4 separate regions of the Homo sapiens genome follow, and regions 2, 3 and 4 are each linked to region 1. Evidence: promoter capture Hi-C in human tissues and cell types (Jung and others, 2019). All regions are on one chromosome and are shown on one strand. Each heading gives the region's core, a stretch centred on a gene start or on the middle of the fragment in contact. The rest is flanking DNA. Distances are from core to core; before and after follow the strand shown.

Region 1 (2,700 bases), core at 148-2,647:
CCTGGTCTGCTTGAGGACGCCTCTTTTCACACTGACAAGGTCCAGGGAGGACTTCAGGATGCTTCCAGCCTGCAAAATGTGGAAGCGCCCACGTGTGGCCTGGTCCTCCGCCCTCCCGGGTGAAAGTCCTGGAGAGATTTCTCGGGCGCGTCCGTGAAAGCAGGGCACTAATGGGGAGCCTACCTCTTAAAACAGCGCACTTGCCCTACGGACGAGCCTCTAGGCCCTGGTGGTCTGGAATGGGAGTGGGTTGGAGCTGGGACAAGAAAACTCCACTCCAGGATGAAACGCGACATGCAAATCTTCACCGGGTTAAACAAACAGCCGAGCAAGCTGCAGCTTCAGCGGAGGTGGAGGTGGGGGCGGACGCCGCTCGCGCCGGTCTCTGTTTCCAAAGTTGTTACAGTGAGAAAATAAGCGGCTTCGTGCAGCGTGTTGTATGGGCTGATGCCTCCCACCCCCATGCCAGCCCACAGCAAAACCCGGCAGATAATCAGCACATCCCACTGTTTAGTCATATTTGACAACTGGGTTAACCTGGTATCTAAGCGCTGGCGAAACCGTACAAAGGGTGCCCTCAATTACCACCAGAAGCCTCTAGCGTGAGTGGCACTTGTATTACCCCCCGGGTCAGAGGCCAGAGCGACAATTAGGAAGTCACTTACACCGCTGGGGGGAAATGGCGGGATGCAGCAGGCTCCAGGCCCTCCCAACAAATCTGTGGATGTAGATCTGTACAGAGAGGCCTATTTCGCTCCTCTCGGAGGAGCTGTCCCTTCGCGCCCCCTCCCCAGTATAACTGTGAGAGTGAAATTGAATCTAGTGGAATAAGGAATTGGGTAGAAGACACACGAAAATGATAAAAATCACAAGCAAGAATGATAGATACAAGCTGAAGTTGTGTTCTGTAGGCAAAAGCCTGGACACACAAAGTGAGGGCTCACATTTCCGTCTCCACTTGGGCCCTGCTGGTGCGGGCTGTGTCTGGGTGTCTCCTCCCCTCCTGCCTCCTTTCCTACAAGTGGGGAGTCGAGTAGGACTGTCAGCCCTAACTTGCAACATCTCGGGGTGGTTTGTGTGTGGGGGGGTGCTTGTGGCTCGGTTTCATTGGTACTTAAACCTGGCTTGGTGCGTGAGTGTAAATTTTTAATTGCACTGTAATTTCTTCAGTCCCCAGCCCGCCCTCGCCCCCCCCCCGCAAGTATCCCCCACTACTCCCCCCCACCCCCGCGGCCCTAGCTAGCTGACTTGACTGGCACGCGCCGGGAGCCCGGGCTCGGGCCCCTCGGAGCGTCTGATTGGCTGCGGGGCAGCTCCGGTCTGCTCTGCCTGCGCCCTCATTGGGCGAGAGGCGCAGCCAGCGGCACTTCAAAGCGGGTGCTCCTCGCACTTAGGCTGAGTTTAGCCGGCGGGAGCCTGGAGTCCGCTCGGCACGAGCGCGGGGACGCGGGAGCCGCGCGGGACCCAAGCAGTTTTTCCGAGCAGCCGCCAGGCTCAGCCCCGCTCCCAGCCTCGCTGCGCAGCCAGAGACCTGCTATGGCCACGTCTATACTCGGGGTAAGTCGCAAGCGCGGCAACGCATTTGCTTGTTTTAACCGGAGTAATTTTTCGTTATGGCTTCTGGGGTCTGCGGCTCCGGAGAAACTGTTGCTGCTAGACTGCAGCTTCAGCTTCTATTAGCACTTTCCACATTTCTGGGACTGATTTTTCCCCAAGTTTTTGGAACCCAGAAAGATGCCTTTGCAAGAAAAGGCCTTCTTAATCAAGTCCTTTTTCATTTGGTTTCAAAAAAAAGCTAGAGGTTTCTTTTCTTCCCCTCGTGATTTATACCCCATCCCCCGCATTGCTTTGGGGATTTTGTTGCAATTATGCGACAATGGTGTTTCCAGAAAACAGTCTTAATCGTTTTGCAGTCCATCTAGTCACGCTAATAAACATTTACATTTCCGCGGCTCCCCAATTCGCCCATGACTTTGAAATCTGTCTCTGGCCGCTTATCCTCGGATTATTGTTTTCATAATCGCTGTTTTTGTGTGTATGTAAACTTTAAAACCAAACGTTTTCTATTAAAAAAGAAAAGTCAAGTCGTAGCCACCCTGGGAGAGCTGCAAGTTTCGCCCGTCCCTGGCAGCTGTTTCGGCCGCCTCCGCCCTCACCCGGTGTTTGTTGTCTCTGGTCTCTGTGTTTACCTTCGCGCTTCACCCCGAAGGGCGACTTGGGGTCTTCTGGGAGATGAGCCGGTTTACGGCGACAACCCAAGTCCGGTTGTAGGCAGGGTTGCAGCGGGGAACACGGAGGCATCTTTGATTTATAGCCTCAGCGAAGTGCAACTTTCCGGCGCCTGGACCTTCGCCCGGGTGATCGCCCCTGCTCCGCGCCCGGTGCGGCGACTCCTCCGCGGGCGCGTGGGGAGGAGGCGCGAGGCGGGGAGCCAGGACCCCCCGGGAGCAGCCGCAGGGGACGAGGCTGCTCACGGGTGCACTTTGTTTCTTCCCCCACTTCCTCTTGCCCTCCTCCTTCTTGCTCCCTCCCCCATCCCACCCACTCTAGGAAGAGCCGCGCTTCGGAACGACCCCGTTGGCCATGCTGGCGGCGACCTGCAACAAGATCGGCAACACGAGCCCGCTGACGACGCTGCCAGAGTCGAGCGCCTTCGCCAAAGGCGGCTTTCACCCCTGGAAGCGCTCCTCGTCCAGCTGC
Region 2 (2,700 bases), core at 183-2,682, 560 kb before region 1:
TTCCGGCCTACCAGCATTAAATTGGGATTCCCATGATCCCCCACCTCTAGTTTGACTAATTTTCTAGACAGGCTAACAGATCTCAGGAAGACACTTTACTTACATTTATCCATTTATTTAAAGGATATTACAGAAGACACAGATGAACAGCCAGATGGAATAGATAGATGCATAGGGCAAGGTATGGGGGAAGGGGCATGGAGTTTCCATGCCATCTCCAGGCATGCCACCCTCCAGAACTTCCAAGTGCTCAGTAATTCGGAAGCTTTCTGAACCCACTCCTTTCGGGTTTTTATGGAGGCTTCACTAGGTAGGGCATGATTAATTACATCATTGGTCATTGATGATCGACTCAACCTTCAGCCTCTCTCCTCTTCCAGGAGGTCAAAGGATGGAGCTGAGAGTTCCAATCCTCTAATCACAGAGTTGGTTCCCCTGGCAACCAGCCCCCATCCTGAGGCTACCCAGGAGCCCACCAAGTCACCTCATTAGAACAAAAGATGCTCCTATTACCCAGGAAATTCCAAGGGATTTAGGAGCTCTGTGTCAGGTGCTTACACCACTAAGAAAATTACAGAGGAAAGGTCTTAGGAGCACTTTTGTCTTGAGGGTGAAAAACCAAATATCGGAACAAAAGATTCCTCTAGCGCCCCTATCTACAAGGCCTTTAGGATTCTGTGCCAAGAACAGGTAGGTGGGCGGAGAGGGAAGGGCAGAGACCAAATATATGTTTTGCATTATATCACAATATCATAGCTCCATAATAAAATTTTTAAAGTAAATAAATAGGTGAGGTTAACTGATCAGAACTTGGAGCTAGAGAATGGAAGTTCTGATACGACAGCTCAGCCGTTGTCCTAGATGAAATCTGAGCTACCAAGTTGAAAGAAAGCTTGAGCAGTTGTCTTTTCCCCATTGTTCCAAGCTGTATCCTGTAGTGCTCTCATTTAAGTATTTCTGCTCTGGTGAGATCCTCTTTGCTCTGACTCCACACCAGCTGAGCACAGATGTTCACTCCCTGTGTTAGGGAATGTGAACCAGGTCTTGGTTTCTGCTTATGCAGTCACTCAAGAAATAGACATCAAGTACTGAGTCTTCTTCCATGGCTGTCTGTGGAAACCTTTGTTCCCCTCTGCTGGATGTGGCAAATGCTGGCTGTTGCTCTGAGGCTGAGCTTTCTGTCATTCTCACATGAGCTCTCTCTCTGGGTTGCTGCAATCTCCATTTTCTCATGCTGAGGTGACAAGAGGTGCTCTTCAAACTCTTCTGGCAGAGCAAGTGCCTTTCTGAGAAGAGCACAAACCTGAAGCAGAGCCATCCCTCAGAAACCACAGAAACAGTGACAGTTCCTATGGCACAGTTTTAAACACAGCAGCAGCAGCCCAGGAACGCTGAGGGCCGACATCATTCACTCCACCAAAACACAAGTTTCGAAGGCAATTCTGGTTCATGATTAGGTCTACTTCATTATCTGTCTGTAAGGCAGGTGTTTGGGAGACAGTAAGCTTTAATGAAAAGAGAGTACATCCTGTATCAGTCCAAGTTTCTTGGTTTCAAACCATAGGCACCATTTCTGGCTGATTTAAGCAAGATGAGAATTTACTGGAAGGATGTCTTGGTAGCTTACAGATTCTCCAAAAAAGCTGGGAAACCAAGTTAACAAAACAGGCAGGAACAAAGAAACAAAGTTTCCTGGGACCCACCTAAAATGAACTGCCCCTGCATCTAAATACTAAAACCTCCAGCACTGTTGCCGACACTGGTCCTAGGTCTTGTCATGGTCCCTGCTTCGTCACTTCACTCACTCCTGATTCAAGTCCAAGTCGAGGGCATCTGACAGAATAAGCCCTGCCTTCCAAGTAGGATGGCAAAGGAGTGTCAGGCCTTTTCTGCCTCCATGCTGGCTTCTACACATGGGTGTCATTCCAGTGAAGTACTAATTTCACATGTGTTGCCCTATGATGCTGAGCAGCTGATCTCCCATGCCGTTTAGATGTAGAATAGACTCCAAGACTAATGCAGAAGAAGCTACCCTTGAGGTTCTGTCGAAGACTATCTACTGTGTGGAGGGAAAGCCTCCTTCTTAGGGCAAAATTAGGGCATATGAGCAAGAAGAATGCGAAATTGTTATGCTTCAGACCCTCAAAGGGGCTGCCTTCTGTAGTCACCACTTGTCCTCTCCTCACCTGTGAACTTCTAACATTTGCATTCAATGTTTGTTACGTAATCATTTTTTATTGTAAATTTTCTTTCATTGACAAGAAAATGATGAAAGAGGAGAGCAAAGGGACCATGGTGATAACCTGCCTTTTTCAATTTTTCTCCAAAATAAAGAAGAAATGAAAGGTATTTACTCACCCTGAAAACAGTTCAAGAGCCTAGATCCATGGGCATCTGCCTTTCCTGATTTGGGAAGAAGATCTCTGCCACTCCCCAATGTGGCCAGAGAGCACAGTGGCAACACAGGCTTCTGACCACACACATTTGAATTCTCAGTCATCTTTGCTGCCATTCCGGCAGACACCAAACTCACACACAGCCTGAACACAGTTATTATAATGAGCCTGTGCTTACTTTGCAAGATCGTCAAGAGTTAAACCAAGTCTGAACTCTTCATTTGCAATATCATACAGTTCACAGATGGAATAATCCATGATTGCGTCTTGGACTACTTTAGAATTAAACTTGCAAGTTTGGAAT
Region 3 (2,700 bases), core at 143-2,642, 740 kb before region 1:
TTCCTCCCCCAAAAAGTGGATTTTTCTTTTCTACCACATAGGCTGAAAATTTTCCAAACTTTTATGCTCTGCTTCCCTTCTAAATATAAGTTCCAGTTTCAGATAATCTCTTTGTGCACACATATGAGTGTATGCTGTTAGAAACAGCCAGACCACAACTTGAACACTTTTTGCTGAGAAATTTCTTCTGCCAGATACTCTAATTCATCTCTCTCAAGTTCAAAGTTCAACAAATCCCTAGAGCAGGGGCACAATGCCACCAGTCTCTTTGCTAAAGCATAGCAAGAGTGACCTTTACTCCAGTTCCCAATAAGTTCCTCATCTCCATCTGAGACCTCTTCAGCCTGGACTTCATTATCCATATCACTATAGCATTTTGGTCACAACCATTCAACAAGTCTATAGGAAGTTCCAAATTTTCCTTCATCTTCCTGTTTCCTTCTAAACCCTCCAAACTGTTTCAACCTCTGTCCACTACCCAGTTCCAAAGCTGCTTCCACATTTACTGGTATCTTTATAGATACCACATTTACTAATATCTTTATAACAATGCCCCACTTCTCTGGTACCAATTTTCTATATTATTCTATTCACACACTGCTGTAAAGACATATCTGAGCCTAGGTAACTTATAAAGAAAAAAGTTTAATTGGCTCACAGTTCTGTGGGCTGTACAGGCTTCTGCTTCTGAAGAGTACTTAGGAAACTTACAATCATGGTAGAAGGTGAAGGGGAGGCAGGCACAGTCTTCATATGGTGGCAGGAGAGAGAGAGCAAAGGGGTAGAAGCTACACACTTTCAAACAATCAGATCTTGTGAGAACTCTATTATGAGAACAGCAACGGGGAAGTCCGCCCCCATGACTCAATCACCTCCCACCAAGCCCCTCCTCTAACACTGGGCATTACAGTTCATCATGAGATTTGGGTGGGGACACAGAGCCAAACCATATTAGTGTCTTTACCCGTGAACATGAAATAATAAGATTGATGTAACAGGATTACTGTGAAGCTTAAATGAGATGATGCATGTAGGTGCCTAGAACTGCCTGCCACTCTCGAGGACCTCACTAAATGCAAGTTCTTTATAGTCCTTCCTCACAGTTAGCATCTGGCCTGGTGGTGCACACACTAACAGGGGGGTTTCTTATAAGGACACAGGACAATCTCATGAATTGGCTTCCTGCGTGTGGCTCTTGGTTTGTTCTTCCCCATAATGGAGGCCCGTCTGTGACTTCATCTTGCGATGGTGCTCACTCCAGCTCTGATATTACATGCTCTTGCACCTCAGCTCTCCAAAGTTAGCCGATCATTTTCACAGAAATAGGAAAACCAATCCTAAAATTTGTGTAAAACCACAAAGGTCCCTGAATAGGCAAAGAAATCTTTGGTAAAAAGAGCAAAGCTGAAGGCATCACACTACCTAACTCCAAAATGTATTACAAAACTATAGAAACCAAAACAGCAAAACACTGGCATAAAAACAGACAAAAACCAATGAAACAGGATAGAGAGCCCAGAAATAAACCCACATGTTTATGGTCAATTGATTTTCAACAAGGCTGCCAAGAACGCACAATAGAGAAAGGACAATCTCTTTAATAAATGATGTTGGGAACATTGGATATGCATGCAGAAGAATGAAATTGAACCCTTACCTCACATGATACACAGAAATGAACTCAAAATGAATTAAAGACTTAAATGTGACACTTGAAACTGTAAAACTACTAGAAGAAAACGTAAAGGGAATGCTCCACAATATTGTTCTGGGGGCAAACATTTCTTGGATGTGACCCCCAAAGCACAGGCAACAAAAGCAAAAAATAAACAAAAAGTATGTCATCAAACTGAAAAGCTTCTGCATGGCAAAAGAAGCAATAGAATGAAGAGACAACTCATGGATTGGGAGAAAATATTTGCAAGCCACATATCTGATAAGGGGCTAATATCCAAAATATATAAGAAACTCAAATAACTCAATTGCAAGAAAATAAAGAACCCAATTTAAAAAATGGGCAAGAGACTTAAATAGACATTTCTTAAAAAAAAAAGACATGTAAATGGTCAACAGATATATGAAAAATCATCATCTTCACTAATTATCAGGGAAACACAAATTAAAACTGCAATGAGATATCACTTCATACCTGTTAGAATGGCTATTTTAGTAAAAAGATGGACAATAACTTTTATTGGCAAGGATGTGGAGGAAAGGGAACACTTGTGCACTGTTGGTGGGAATGTAAATTAGTACAGCTATTATGGAAAAGAGTATGGAGGTTCCTCAGAAACTAAAAATAGAATTACCATATGATCCAGCAAACCCACTTCAGGATATGTATCCAAAAGAACGGACATCAGTATGTTAAGAGATACCTGCACTCCCATCATATTCATTGCAATGTTACTAGCAATAGCAAAGATATGGAATTAACCTAAGCATCCACCATCAGATGAATGGATAAGGAAAATGTGGTATATAAACAATGGAAGATTTTTCACTCTTGAAAAAGAAGGAAATCCTGGCATTTGCGGCAATATGAATGAACCTGGAGGACATTACGCTAAGCGAAATAAGCCAGGCATAGAAAGGCAAAGACTGTGTGATCTCACTTACTTGTGGAATCTAAAAATGTTGACCCCATAGAAATAGGGAGTAGAATGGTGATTTACAGAGGCTGGGAGTTGGGGTTGGAGG
Region 4 (2,700 bases), core at 90-2,589, 660 kb before region 1:
TTCATTTCTCCCTATCTTTATCTAAACATACATAGATCCAGTTGGCACTTTCAAAATACTGCCTGAAAAGTTTTCATATTCACCAGTTCATTATGTATAATTTTTCTATTTTTTATGTCACTGCAGGCAAAATCCTCTTTCCACTCAATTCCAGTAACCTTTTCTCTTTCCTTTAAACCCTCACTCACAGTCCCGTAAGGGCCGTCAGACTGCAGCTAACAGTTTCTTCAAGGCCCTTCCAATATTTGCCCACCTTCCAGTTCCAAAGCCACTATCACATAATTTAGGCTTTGCTATGGCAGCACCCCAGATACCACTTCCAGATACCAAACTCCTCACTAGTTATTTACTGGTGCATAATACACTGTGCCAAAACTTAGTGGCTTAAAATGACAAAAATTATTTATTTTTGCCCCAGAATCTTCTATTTAGGCAAGGCTCAGTGGAGAACGCTGATCTCTGCTCCAATTGGCATTAGCTAAAAAAGCTCGACTGTCAGCCAGAGGATCAGGCTCCTACAGGGTGCATTTGGCTGGCAATTTGGTCCTGACTATTGGCTGGAAGTTTAGCCTGGGTTGAGGCTTAATACAGCTACAAAATGTGTTTGTGGTCATTTACTTACAAATCCAATGGAATTGAATATTTTTATACACTTTACGTGGAGCAAATTAAAATATGTGCTGTGGGGTGTGTGTTTGTGTGTATGAGTGTGTGCAGCACATATGTTTTGTGGATGCCAAAGCAACTCTACCTTGAGTGCTAAGTGTCCGTGTTGACTTCTGATTAACCCCAATTCTGGGAAAACCTCTAAGATTTCCAGTTTAAATCCTGCCCTTAGGTCACACAACCTTGATGTTATTATGCTTACCATAAGTCCTGCCTTTAAATGATTGTTTTACATATCCCTTCTGAATCATGTATACCCTTTCCCTATGGTATATAACCCCTTCATGTGGCCCGGACTTCATCATTACAGAATGACTGAAGACCAAGAGTGAGCACCCCAAGAGAGAAAGATAACCTTTTATGATCTAGCCTCAGTAGCCACAGAGCATTACTTCACCCACATACTATTAGTTGGATGGTCACAAAAGCCTGACCAGATTCAGTTGGAAGGGACACAGACTTCATCTCTTGAAGTGGGTATACTAAGATGTTGGAAGAGCACATGGAATGTAAAGAAAAGACAATCTGCCACACTTTTTAAAATTTAATTAAATGATTTTAGTTTTATTTGTTTAAAGCCACAAAATCTTTTTTTAGCATTGCTTTTCAAAATTTTACTAAAATTTTTTAATTGAAGCATAATCGACATCGACTATACTTAATCTATGTATAGTCCAATTTGATAAGCTTTGACATATGTATGTATCTGTAAAATGAATACCGCAATCAAGATAATGAGCAAATCTATTACCCCTAAAAGTTTAAAATTTAATTATATATTTTTTGATATTTAAAAATTTATATGGTTCAGAAGTCAACACTATATAAAAAGGTATCCATCGAGAGGTTTCATTCCCTTTTCTATCCCTATAGATAACATTTTCATTGTTTTTTGATTTATACTTTGGGTTTATGTTTTAAATTCCAGAAACACACACACACACACACACACATTCCTATTGCCAATTCTTTCTTACAAAAAACAGATATTATATATATTATATGATAGATGTTACATCTTGGTAATTGCTATATAACCTTTTATCAAGGTCTTCCTCATTCTCTTTTTATGGCTGTATAGTACTCCATTGTAGGCATGTACCAGAGTTTATTTCATTTTTCTTTTATAGGTAGTCATTTGTTGTCAAGCTTTTGAATTTGTGCCAATATGATAAGTAAAAAGTAATACCTCAGTGTAGTTTTAATTTTAATCACTTTATAGTATATATCTTTTTTTGAAGGGTCTCTTCATCACTTTTGCTGATTTTTTCTATTGGGTTATCTAAATTTTAATAATTTATATTAATTTTAACAATTCTTTATACACAAGAGAAATTCATCTCCTATCTGTGGTATCTATTGAAAATATTTATCTCCTATCTGTGGTATCTATTGAAAATATTTTCTGCCCATTTTCCCCTTGTCTTTTGTCTTTGCTTTTTGTGTTTTCTGCCTGACAAAATCTTTTTTCTGTAATGTCATCAATTTTACTCACGCTTTCTTATTATAAAGAGAAACAAATAATTTTAACTGTATATAAATTAGATAACATGACCACATAGGGGAAAAAAAACTGAGTTAAGTAATTTTTGAACCAAGTACTTTGGTTATACATCCTTAGTAGGATATATTGTTGTTAGTGGTGTTAATGTGTTAATTTGGAGATATATATTTTGTATACAGTATATCATAAGACAGAGCAAATGAATTACTATATTTATGTGATTGGGAGAAGGCAGAGACCTGTCATACACATCCTCAGCCTCACTAATAATTCAGCAACAGCTGTGTGAGTGGTTGCGGGCAAGCTTCAAACCAGTTCAAATTGACATCTCATTTCAAGTGTGCACCACTGGTCTCTCACTTCCTGCCCCAGAACTTCTTTGCTGTGGGATGCCTGTGGGAACCCATATGATATTCCCACATTGTGATTCAAGGGAGCAGGTGAGTTAACGCCTCCTAAGTAACTCTCAACCAACTGGGGTAGGAGCTGAGAGAAATGCTTCTCTCTTTTGTCTCTTAGACAGACAACTC

What was found. The method cuts DNA at HindIII sites, captures the fragments that hold promoters and counts their contacts. A contact is called where the count stands out against the background at its distance.
Region 2: a contact is called between a fragment that was not itself captured here and the fragment with the promoter of SP9 in region 1, in 1 of the 25 tissues and cell types used here (thymus).
Region 3: a contact is called between a fragment that was not itself captured here and the fragment with the promoter of SP9 in region 1, in 1 of the 25 tissues and cell types used here (lymphoblastoid cells).
Region 4: a fragment that was not itself captured here is called in contact with the fragment with the promoter of SP9 in region 1 in 1 of the 25 tissues and cell types used here (mesenchymal stem cells).

What each region holds. Positions count from the first base shown.
Region 1 is chr2:174,333,557-174,336,256 of GRCh38, forward strand. It overlaps SP9 (Sp9 transcription factor), which reads left to right and starts at 1,398. Exons shown (of 2, transcript NM_001145250.2): 1 at 1,398-1,557; 2 at 2,551-2,700. The coding sequence starts at 1,537. It overlaps LOC102724194 (a long non-coding RNA gene), which reads right to left and starts at 1,420. Exons shown (of 3, transcript XR_427194.5): 1 at 184-1,420; 2 at 1-69. The HindIII fragment of the contact is 14,947 bases long and covers 1-2,700 here.
Region 2 is chr2:173,770,184-173,772,883 of GRCh38, forward strand. No RefSeq gene overlaps it. Among named protein-coding and RNA genes, the nearest start is that of SP3, 190 kb to the right of the region's middle. The HindIII fragment of the contact is 5,425 bases long and covers 1-2,700 here.
Region 3 is chr2:173,593,454-173,596,153 of GRCh38, forward strand. No RefSeq gene overlaps it. Among named protein-coding and RNA genes, the nearest start is that of CDCA7, 240 kb to the left of the region's middle. The HindIII fragment of the contact is 5,269 bases long and covers 1-2,700 here.
Region 4 is chr2:173,670,634-173,673,333 of GRCh38, forward strand. No RefSeq gene overlaps it. Among named protein-coding and RNA genes, the nearest start is that of SP3, 290 kb to the right of the region's middle. The HindIII fragment of the contact is 3,132 bases long and covers 1-2,700 here.